4 separate regions of the Homo sapiens genome follow, and all the other regions are linked to region 4. The links are contacts of gene promoters, found by promoter capture Hi-C in blood cells and fetal thymus (Javierre and others, 2016). All regions are on one chromosome and are shown on one strand. Each heading gives the region's core, a stretch centred on a gene start or on the middle of the fragment in contact. The rest is flanking DNA. Distances are from core to core; before and after follow the strand shown. Region 1 overlaps USP34 (ubiquitin specific peptidase 34). Region 2 overlaps XPO1 (exportin 1). Region 3 overlaps USP34 (ubiquitin specific peptidase 34). Region 4 holds the start of REL (REL proto-oncogene, NF-kB subunit).

Region 1 (2,700 bases), core at 126-2,625, 540 kb before region 4:
AAAAAACCAAAAATTTAAAAAGACAAAAGTATATCTGATTTTTGTGTTTTGAATTTGTATCCTGTAACTTTGTTGAATTCACTTATTTTTTGTTTGTTTGTTTTTGAGAGGGGGTCTCACTCTGTTACCCAGGTTGGAATGCTGAAATGCAAACTGCAGTTTAATGGAAGCCACTGATTTTTTTCGGCTCACTTCAGCCTTAACCTTCCAGGTTCGAGTGATCCTTCCACCTCAGCCTCCTCAGTAGCTGGGACCAGAGGTGTGCACCACCATGCCTGGCTAATTGTTTATATTTTTCGTAGAGATGGGGTTTCACTATGCTGCTCAGGCTGGTCTTGACCTCCTAAGCTCAAGTGATCTGCCCGCCTTGGCCTTCCAAAGTGCTGGGATTACCGGCTGTTAGTTCTAACAGTTCTTCTTGTGTAATCCTTAGGGTTTTCTGTTGGTTCATGTTATCTGTGGACAGAAGTGACTTGATTTCTTTCCATTTTCTTCCTCATTGAATTGCTCTGACTAGAATTTCTAATACTGTGTTGAATAGAAATTGTGAAAGTGACCACCTTATCTTGGTCCTAATCTTAGAGGAAAAGCTTTTGGGCTTTCACCTTTGAGTATGATGATAGCTGTGTGTTTGGAGAACTCTACTCTGATGAAATGTCCTTCACTTGCCTTTCTGGTTCTGGGTTGGATGGAATGAGTTGGAAAGTTTTTGTTGGTTAGCAGCTAGGCTGTCAGGCGGGCCTCTGGTGAGGATGGTTTTCTGGCCACACAAACTTTTTTTCAGAATGTGTGCCGTGTGTGTTTTTTGTTAGAGTAGGATATGATGGTTGTAGCCACTCTTCCCTCTGTTTTTAGGCACTGTTATGGCTGGGGAAGGAAAACTGGCATGGCGTACTGTGATCCCTTCTTCACCTTGTTGAAATCATACAATGCAAGAGGTTGTTTTTAGTGGTTGCTTCATCTTAGGCCCCAACTATATCTTATTCTGTCCTAGTTGCTAAGCTTTGTTGCCCAGGTCTTCTCCCTGATGGTCAGTAGTGTCTTCGGCTTCCAGGGCCTCAGATGTGATCTAGGTCCCAAAAGCCTGGTCTTGGGTGTAGGTGTTACTACCTTGTGACTGTTTTACATGTATTTTGGCCTTACGCCGTTTCCTTTTCTCCTTGACCAAGGTAATTTTTTTTTAAACCCCTTTTTGGTTAATCAGTATTACCAGAGAGGAATCTTCCAACCTCCTAGTTCAGCTTACCAGCATTTCTGGAGCTGAGTTGAGGAAGTGTGCTGTAAGTCTCAACATTGTGTATGTAGTCTGATTAAGTAGAAGGTGCGCGCGCGCGCGTGTGTGTGTGTGTGTGTGTGTGTTTTAAATGTAAACTAACCTCATATATATTTGGTACAGGAAACTTACTGGTATAGTAGGACATATTACTGCTTCATAGGGGATTTCCCCTCCTCACGTTAATGTGATACAGTGATCCAGGCAAGATTTCTTGGGATTAAAGAGAAGACACTAGCAATATATAAAGAAACAGTAAGAAAGCTGATAAGCCTCAAAAATGCTTTCTTGTACATACATAATAATTGGTTTAGTGGCTTCAAAGACCCTTATGTTTTCTACTTTGTAAAGCTGTGTGGACCAGCCAAAGAAGGTAAAAGCCATTAAAATGATGGAATTATAAGAATGGTTATGTTCAATTTTTATTATTTTGGGAAATGGTCTTTTAATGAGAACTGAATGTTCTCAAGCTTCCTCATATCAAAAGAGGAACGCCGTGTGAAGGAAGCTGTGACTTCAAGGAAGGTATGCTCTGTGGCTACTGCTGATACCTCTGAGAGGAGTACCATGAGACTGGTTCTTGGAATACTAAGCTGGAGGCTGGAATCAGTGCTGCTGCTTTCAGATATAGCAAGCTGACAAGTCTTTGGTCTCTCCTCCTGCCTTCTTCTTCTAGTACCCTATAGGCACTGGAGAACAAGATCTTAACAGGAAGACAGCTGGAAATGAAAAATGTAGATTGCATGGTCCCAGCCTCAGCATCACAACGGAAGGCTGGTTTTGGAGATGAGAGATAATCCCAGAATAAGTGGCAAAGTCTCACTGCCCCCCCCACCCCTTACATCTGTCAAAAATCTGTTCTTAAGTCCATATGAGTTATTAATTAAAAGTAGACTTATTTTCTTTGGAAGCAAAAGAATGATTATCTGAAATGTTTGCATTTGTAGCTCTTGGCTTTATTTTGAACTGTTGGCTTTAATACTGGTTTAGCATTATTCATAATTTTAAAATTTCTTTTTTATTTCAGTATCAGATGTAGAAGGTGGTGATGGACTGCAGCTCAGAAAGGAACATACTCTCAAAATATTTACTTATATCAATTCCTGGACACAGAGGTATGCATCTTTAGGTATTTCGAAGACTAATTTTTGTGAGTTGTGTTATAAGTTGCGATTTTTATTGTCACATTTTCTTTTTAGGGTGTTGGGTTAGATACCATTAGTTACTAAATGACAGTTTGTCAATATTTATTAAATCTTTACTCATGAGGTCGATCATGATTCTGTTTTTAAAACATGGGCATAAATATCAGTTTCTTTCTTTGACCCCTGCTTATTTAGGGATATGAGAGTCACAGAAATTCTGAAAAGTAACTATTTTGAGAGATTAAATAATTTTTATGGTATAGCTAAAGGCTTGTAACAATC
Region 2 (2,700 bases), core at 183-2,682, 610 kb before region 4:
GCACCATTGTGCCTGGCTAATTTTGTATTTTTAGTAGAGACAGGGTTTCTCCATGTTGGTCAGGCTGGTCTTGAACTCCCGACCTCAGGTGATGCACCCGACTCAGCCTCCCAAAGTGCTGGGATTATAGGTGTGAGCCACCTCGCCTGGCCATTATGATGGATAATTCTTTTTTTTTTTTTGAGACGGAGTCTTGCTCTTTCGCCCAGGCTGGAGTGCAGTGGTGCGATCTCGGCTCACTGCAAACTCCATCTCTAGCGTTCACGCCGTTCTCCTGCCTCAACCTCCCGAGTAGGTGGGACTACAGGCGGCTGCCACCACGCCTGGCTATTTTTTTTGTATTTTTAGTAGAGACGGGGTTTCACCGTGTTATCCAGGATGGTCCCGATCTCCTGAACTCATCATCCGCCCGCCTCGGCCTCTCAGAGTGCTGGGATTACAGGCGTGAGCCACTGTTCCCAGCCGTGGATAATTCTTATATGATAAATGGAATTTGCTTTTTTTCCTCCAAGAATGTGGATATACTGAAAGATCCTGAAACAGTCAAGCAGCTTGGTAGCATTTTGAAAACAAATGTGAGAGCCTGCAAAGCTGTTGGACACCCCTTTGTAATTCAGCTTGGAAGAATTTATTTAGATATGCTTAATGTATACAAGTGCCTCAGTGAAAATATTTCTGCAGCTATCCAAGCTAATGGTAGGTGATTCTGATTTCTTACACAATGCAGTATAAACAAACCACTTCTCTTCTACTGCCTTAAGTCAAACATTTGATGTTTTTTACAGATTTAAATCAGACCTCCCATTTCCCAAATGACCCTAGACATATTTAAAACAGTTAAGTGTACCTTTCCCTTTTAAAATTAGTCTTAAAGCTTATTTTCCCAATAAATTTTGTGAACTTTTGGCTTTAAACTTTTTAATGGTAAAATGGAATTGCATCTAATGTACACCTGAGTACCACTGTATAAGTTTAGTGGTAAAATTAGATTCCATTTGATTCTGTTTTGTAGGTGAAATGGTTACAAAGCAACCATTGATTAGAAGTATGCGAACTGTAAAAAGGGAAACTTTAAAGTTAATATCTGGTTGGGTGAGCCGATCCAATGATCCACAGATGGTAAGTGAGAGATGCTTTGCTTTTGATTTCTAGTGTTGATGCTGTGTTTTATGGAATATGCTATACTCTATTATGTGCATTTTGCTAATTTAAAGCATATCAACTTTGTGGTTATTTTATGGCATTTTATTTATTGTAGTCCTTACGTTAATATACTAATAGCTGTATTCCATCTTCAAAAGAAACTGCTGTTAATCAGTAGCGAAGGGTGGTGATATGTAACAAGATAGCTAAGAAAATTGGGTCATTTTATGTTTCCATAGATAGGTTAGGAGGATTTAATTAATGGAGTACCGGTGCAGTTTTTGCATTCCTCTTGATTTTTAGAACAATTGCTAGAGCTACAAAGTTGTCATTACTTTACCTCTTTAGCAAAGTGATTGCTTCCCAGATTAAAGGCCTGAAAGTCTTTTTTACACCCTTTTTCCTAAATGATTTGCAGAAAAGGAAATCATTTTCAGTAATAAAAACCAGCTGCGTATGCCTCAACTTGTAAAATTGTGAATTAGTTTTAGGTTTTAACTGTATCGTTTCATTCTTGTTATTCAATTGAGCCTTGGGAGAGTCCAAAAAATTCTAATACTACTATTACTTGGAATAGTGTTGGTTTTTTGTTTTTTGGTTTTTTTTTTTACAAGTGTGCTAGTTATTTTCATAGTTTTGAAATTTCAGTATTGTTTCTTGTTAAGGAAATACTTTTCAGTAAACTTGTTCTGAATATAATTCTTGTGGAATACTTAAGTTGGCTAACCTAAATATCGAAAGGTTCTGAACATGCGTATTATGTGAACAGAACTGTATTTAAAATTTGAAAGCAGAAAGTAAGATGTATTGAAGGAATTGTGATGTTTGTAATTTACAAGAAGCTTGAGCACGTGTCGGGAGCACAGTGGGAATAATACAAAGGGTATCATCTTTTGTAACATTAATGTTAAAGTTTGGGATATTTGTTCACATGAAACATTGTGTTTATTTTCCTTGTCTTGGCTTTTCACGGTGGCTCATGCCTGTAATCCCAGCACTTTGGGAGGCCGAGGCGGGTGGATCACTTGAAGTCAGGAGGCTGAGGCAGGAGAATCACTTGAACCCCAGAGGTGGAGGTGACAGTGAGCCAAGATTGCGCCATTGCACCCCAGTCTGGGCCACAAGTGGGAAACTTCGTCTCAAAAAAAAAAAAAGAACAAGAAGTTACTCTTTAAGTATAACTCAGTTTACTTAGAATCATGAAAATCTTACTGGGCATTGTAGCATGCACCTGTAATCCCAACCACCAGGGAGGGTAAGGCAGGCGAATCACCCCAGCTCAAGTCCAGTTTAGGCAACATGGCAAGATTCAGTTTCAAAAAAATAATAGAAATCCATAGTCTTTCTTATTTTCTGAGAGTAATTGATTGATGTTATTTCTGCTTGTGAAAATACTCACCAGTTAGCATTCATTAGATTAAAACATTAGTCTGAGTTGGGTGGATCACGAGGTCAGGAAATCAAGACCATCCTGGCTAACACGGTGAAACACCCCGTCTCTACTAAAAATATAAAAAATTAGCTGGGCGTGGTGGCAGGTGCCTGTACTCCCAGCTA
Region 3 (2,700 bases), core at 35-2,534, 580 kb before region 4:
ATTACTTTATTGAATAGTTTGTGTTGGGTACTTAAGTACTTTACATGCTTTGCATGCTGCTGATTTAATCAGTTCTTTGAGGGAGGTACTCTGTCATCCTTTTCAGATGAGGGAACTAAGGTTTAGAGAATTTATGTGACTTGCTTAGGGTCACATGTGACTGTTTGGTGGAACCACAGGACTTAATCCCAGATTAGGCTAAGAGTTTTTTTTTTTTTTGAAAAGGAATTTTGTTCCTGTTGCCCAGGCTGGTGTGCAATGGCATGATCTCGGCTCATTGCAACCTCCGCCTCCTGGGTTCAAGCGATTCTCCTGCCTCAGCCTCCTGAGTAGCTGGGATTACAGGCATGCACCACCATGCCTGGCTAATTTTTGTAATTTTAGTCGATGTGGGGTTTCACCATGTTGGCCAGGATGGTCTTGAATTCCTGACCCCAGGTAATCCGCCTCCCTTGGCCTCCCAAAGTGTTGGGTTTAGGGGTGTGAGCCATCCTGCCTGGCCTAAAAGTTCTTACTAGTTAACATTGTATAAATTTTATGATGATCTATCTGAATCACCACTGTTCAGTTGGCAAAGTGAAAATTACTGACCGTGTTTTATGTATCTTCAAAAATTCAGACAAATTTCTGTGATAATTGTAGTAGGAATTCAAAAGTGGTAATAAGTATAGCTGAATAAGAATCTTTTTCATTGAATAAAATTTCAAATTTTTTGATTTTTGATTATTTTTTAAGAGACAGTGTATCACCCATGCTGGGGTGCAGTGGCCCAATTATAGCTCACTGCAGCCTCAAGCTCCTGGGCTCAAGTGATGCTCCTGCCTCAGCCTCCCAAAGTGTTGGGGTATGCTGTACCCGGCTGAGAATCTTTCTTAATACTGTTATTCTGCAGTGAACCGTTTAATAAAACTACATGTTTCCAGAGCTTTTTAGATACTATGAGTATATAGGTACGAAATCAATTAGTAACATAACTTTTTCAGTAGACATTTAATCTAAAGTTGGAATTTTTTTCCCCCCTTTGGAGATGGAGTCTTATTCTGTCATCCAGGCTGGAGTGCAATGAAGTGATTATTGCTTACTATAACTTGACCTCCTGGGCTCAAGTGATTTTCCTGTCTCACCCTCCTGAGTAGCAGGGACTATAGGTGTGTATACCAGCACACCTGGCTGCCTTTTTTTTTTTTTTTTTGGGAAACAGTTTCCCTCTGTCTCCCAGGCTGGAGTGCATTGGTACAGTCTCGGCTCACTGCACCCTCTGCCTTGGGGGGCTCAAGCAGTTCTTGTGCCTCACCCTCCCAAGTAGCTGGGATTATAGGCATGTGCCATCATGCCGGGCTAATTTTTGTATATTTAGTAGAGATGGGGTTTCGCCATGTTGGTCAGGCTGGTCTCAAACTCCTGGCCTCAAGTGATCCGCTTGCCTCAGCCTCCCAGAGTGCTGGGATTACAGGGTGTGAGCTACTTTGTCCGGTTCTCCTGAATTGATTTTTTTTTTTTTTTTGGAGACGGAGTCTTACTCTGTGGCCCAGGCTGGAGTGCAGTGGCATGATCTTGGCTCACTTCAACCTCCTCTTCCTGGGTTCAAGCAATTCTCCTGCCTCAGCTTCCCAAGTAGCTGGGATTACAGGTGCGTACCACCATGCCCAGCTAATATTTGTGTTTTTTGTAGGAATGGGGCTTCACTGTTTTGCCCAGGCTGTTCTCAAACTCCTAGCCTCAAGTGATTCACCCACCTCGGCCTCCCAAACTGCTGGGATTACAGGCATGAGCCACCACGCCTGGCTGATTTTCTTTTTTTTTTTTTTCCCCCTGAGATGGAGTCTTGTTCTGTTGCCCCAGGCTGGAGTGCGATGGCCTGATCTTGGCTCACTGCAACCTCCGCCTCCCGGGTTCAAGCGATTTTCCTGCCTCAACCTCCTGGGTAGCTGTGATTACAGGCAACTGCCACCATGCCTGACTAATTTTTGTTACGTTTAGTAGAGATGAGGTTTCACCATGTTGGCCAGGCTGGTCTTGAACTCCTGACCTCATGATCTGCCCACCTCGGCCCCCTAAAATGCTGTGACTACAGGTGTGAGCCACCGCGTCTGGCTGAAAACATGTTTTTGTATAAGATTTCATTTTATATAAAATTTAATATATCTGTTTCCAGTTCTCCCATATTATGAATAATGCCGCAAATGTACATCTTTCTACTTAAATCTTTTATCTACATCCCTGGTTCTTTTAGATTTCTAGACGTGAGTTTACTGTGTCAAAAAATATAAACATTTTTCATTATTTTCATACTGTTTGCTTGCCAGAAAGGATATATTGATCTTTTAGTCGTAGTCGTGCCTGTGTAAGGGCACTTTCACCTGTCTTGAATATTATCCTTTAGAAAGTGTTATTTTAGCAGGGCATGGTGATGTGTGCCTGTAGTATTCCCAGCTACTCAGGAGGCTGAGGTGGGAGGATCACTTGAGCCCTGGAATTCAAGGCTAGCCTGGGCAACATAGCAAGACTTCATCTCTTAAAATAAAAGTTATTTTGGTAGAGAATGTATTAAGCAATTACTAGTAAATTTAACCATTCATATTTTTGTTATTTAATGAATTGTATGTTTTTTTTTCTGTATTTCAGATTTCAGTGTTTTGGGTTTTTTTTTTTATTTTTTTGAGGCGGAATTTCGCTCTTGTTCACTAGGGTGGAGTGCAA
Region 4 (2,700 bases), core at 163-2,662:
CAACCTTAAGCTCCAGGCAGCCCCAACCACATCTGTGTATATAGGAGACTTTCTTGCTCTGCAATGTTTCTTACAAACTTATTCCCCCCCAAAGGGAGAGATCGAGCATTTATTAAGGGAAAATATATAGTCACATAAGTGATAAAGTTGTATTCATTCCTACTCATTATTTTAAAGCTCGGATATTCTAAAACTCCTCTTTCCCCTTATTTCCAGCGAGGAGGAAGGGGGATTCAACGTCTCTATTCGTCAGATTAGGAACCTTGAGCTTTATCTCACAGTAAAAACTACATTTTTTTTTTTTTTAAATAGAGACAGGGTCTCCCTCTGTCGCCCAGGCTGGAGTGCAGGGGCGCGATCTCGGCTCACTGCAACCTCCACCTCCCAGGTTCAAGCGATTCTCCTGCCTCAGCTTCCCGAGTAGCTGGGATTACAGGCGCGCGCCACCACGCCCCGCTGATTTTTGTATTTTTAGTAGAGACGGGGTTTCACCATGTTTGCCAGGCTGGTCTCAAACTCCTGACCTCTGGTTATCCACCCGCCTCGGCCTCCCAAAGTGCTGGGAATACAGGCATGAGCCACCGCGCCCGGCCTACACTTGGTCGAAGCAACATTAACACTTAAAATACCACGGATTTTCTAATTCGTGTTAAAATACCACGGATGATTTTTAAAGCCGTGACACATTTTGTACAACTGTCAGTACAAGGGGGATCACCTCTTTGCATTTGATGAAATTAAACTAAAAAGGGGGAGAGAGCTTGCCCGAGGTCTGAAGGTTCCTCATTCCTGTTCTAAAACATAAAACCACCATCTTCAATACATATACATTTTTAATGAGAACTCTTCGTCCTCCTTTGGTTCGCTTATGACTTCCCTAATCCTAAAATCAAGTCGTTGGGAATTTCTAAGGTTCCTGCTATGACAACAGGATCGAATTACAGAGCGTGGCTTGGATTCTGCACGCAAACCCTGAAGCAGGTAACTTTTTTAAAAGCTGACAATTTTACCATATGAGATTTTAAAGACAGAACGCGCCCCAGCAAAAACTGAGCTCCCTAAACTCACTGCGGCAGGACCCCCTTCAGAAGAGCTCCTTTCCCCCGGCCCAGGCCCGCGCCCCATGAACACTCACCGGAGGCCATGGCTCCGCTCCCCGCACCTTCCCGCAGGCAGCTCCCAGCGTCCTGGCCGGAGGCGGCCGCAGTCAGTCAGTCAGGAGGCCGAGGGACCTCTGCCGGCGGGGCCCCCAGTCCCCCGACCACCCTAGAGGCCTCCTCCTTCTTCCCGCCCTCCGCTGGGTTTGCGGCTCACACCTTCCCAACCCCTGAATTCTTGCACCCCGGGTCACCCAGCGTCGCCGTCCACCGTACGGGAGCCAGGGGCAGGGGGCGGAGCGGGGAGAGCCGAGTGCTGGCCCAGCCGAGAGGCGAGCAGCCTGGCGGGAGGGGAATTTCCCGCGGCTGACGTAGGCCCGACGCAGCAACCCTCACCCGGAGGCGTGGGCGGGGCGACCTCGCGGCCGCCGCGCGCGCGACCGCCCCCAGCGCCCCGCCCCTGCCTGTCCCCGCGCACGCTCCCCGCCGGCCCCCACGCATACGCCCCCGGCGCTGCTGCGGCGGCTGGCTTGGGAGGGGGTCGAGGGAGCGGGAGCTTGGGGTGGGCTTCGGGAGCGCAGGGAACGGCGGGAGCCGGGAGGTGACGGCTAGCAGCGTGAGAAGGCCGCTGGCTCCTGAGAAATCCCCCTCCTCCAGGTTGTTCTTCCGAGTGTGGTTTAAAGTTCAGGAGCGGGCGGGAGGGTGCGGATGACGTAGAGAGGGCCGGCCGCTGGGGAGCTTTTGGGGGCGCGCGGGGCCGACTCTCCCGGCCTGGGAGGGCGACGGCCGGGGTTTTCGAGAGGTGGTTCCCCCTCTTCCCGACTTCGCACATGCAAATCTCCACCCCCGCGCCAGCGGCGGGACGTTGCGCCCTGTAGGGGGAAGTGGTGCTGCGGCGGGGGTCCTGTCTTCTTCTGTAATTCCTGTATTTGCATACGGGGACCCCCCCCCCGACTGATTTTTTTTCCTCCATCTAAATTGCGAGGGTACTGTGAACTTTACGTATTTTACCTACTGAAACCCGTTTAAACTCAAAAGGTCCGCACTTGGAGTTCGTTGTCTCATTAGGCAGTGCACTGAAGTTTAGTGGACACTATATCCTGAGATTTCACACAGATGCCAAGAAAGGCGGAAATGGAGCACACATTTAGTGCATTAAAGGACCTAGGATAACTTCGTTTCCTTCATTTGAATAGTACCTGCTATGCATCAGATAATGTCCATACTTAATCTATGACGTATTTATTATTCCTAACTTTATAGATGAAGTATTCGGGGTTCAGAGAAGTTACTTCAACATACAGTACTTCAGAATGCTGATAAAAGGCACAGTTTAAAGCCAGGGTTGTCTGACTCCAAAGCTCCATGCCCTTGCCCCTGTCCCTTACTAGTTAAAATTAGTACGGAGAGGTAATGGGGAATATCAGCCTGCCATACAAGTGCCCAAAACTGGGGGACCCATATGGGCAAATAATTTAAAATATCCTGCCAACCCCAAACTGTTCTTTCCACGAAATGCGCAATGTACAACAAAAGAATGAAACAGTTTTATTATTGGATATGTACTAAAACGTACCATGATGCACATCACAGGCAATCCACT

What was found. Contacts are between HindIII fragments. The CHiCAGO score rates a contact against its expected background, and 5 or more counts as called.
Region 1: a contact is called between a fragment that was not itself captured here and the fragment with the promoter of REL in region 4, in 1 of 17 cell types (total B cells). The highest score is 6.0, in total B cells.
Region 2: a contact is called between a fragment that was not itself captured here and the fragment with the promoter of REL in region 4, in 2 of 17 cell types (total B cells and total CD4 T cells). The highest score is 5.3, in total B cells.
Region 3: a contact is called between a fragment that was not itself captured here and the fragment with the promoter of REL in region 4, in 2 of 17 cell types (activated CD4 T cells and non-activated CD4 T cells). The highest score is 5.6, in activated CD4 T cells.

The regions. Positions count from the first base shown.
Region 1 is chr2:61,420,434-61,423,133 of GRCh38, reverse strand. USP34 (ubiquitin specific peptidase 34) reads left to right here. Exons shown (of 80, transcript NM_014709.4): 2 at 2,301-2,388. Among named protein-coding and RNA genes, the nearest start is that of SNORA70B, 4.4 kb to the right of the region's middle. The HindIII fragment of the contact is 741 bases long and covers 1,005-1,745 here.
Region 2 is chr2:61,486,584-61,489,283 of GRCh38, reverse strand. It overlaps XPO1 (exportin 1), which reads left to right. Exons shown (of 25, transcript NM_003400.4): 18 at 513-696; 19 at 1,013-1,119. Among named protein-coding and RNA genes, the nearest start is that of USP34-DT, 17 kb to the right of the region's middle. The HindIII fragment of the contact is 1,111 bases long and covers 877-1,987 here.
Region 3 is chr2:61,461,354-61,464,053 of GRCh38, reverse strand. The region is part of intron 1 of USP34 (ubiquitin specific peptidase 34); the gene reads left to right. Among named protein-coding and RNA genes, the nearest start is that of USP34, 8.4 kb to the left of the region's middle. The HindIII fragment of the contact is 4,536 bases long and covers 1-2,700 here.
Region 4 is chr2:60,880,286-60,882,985 of GRCh38, reverse strand. REL (REL proto-oncogene, NF-kB subunit) reads right to left here and starts at 1,412. Exons shown (of 10, transcript NM_001291746.2): 1 at 1,136-1,412. The coding sequence starts at 1,145. It overlaps REL-DT (REL divergent transcript), which reads left to right and starts at 1,672. Exons shown (of 3, transcript NR_033980.1): 1 at 1,672-1,754. RefSeq lists an enhancer at 1,000-1,669 and a silencer at 1,278-1,817. The HindIII fragment of the contact is 7,860 bases long and covers 1-2,700 here.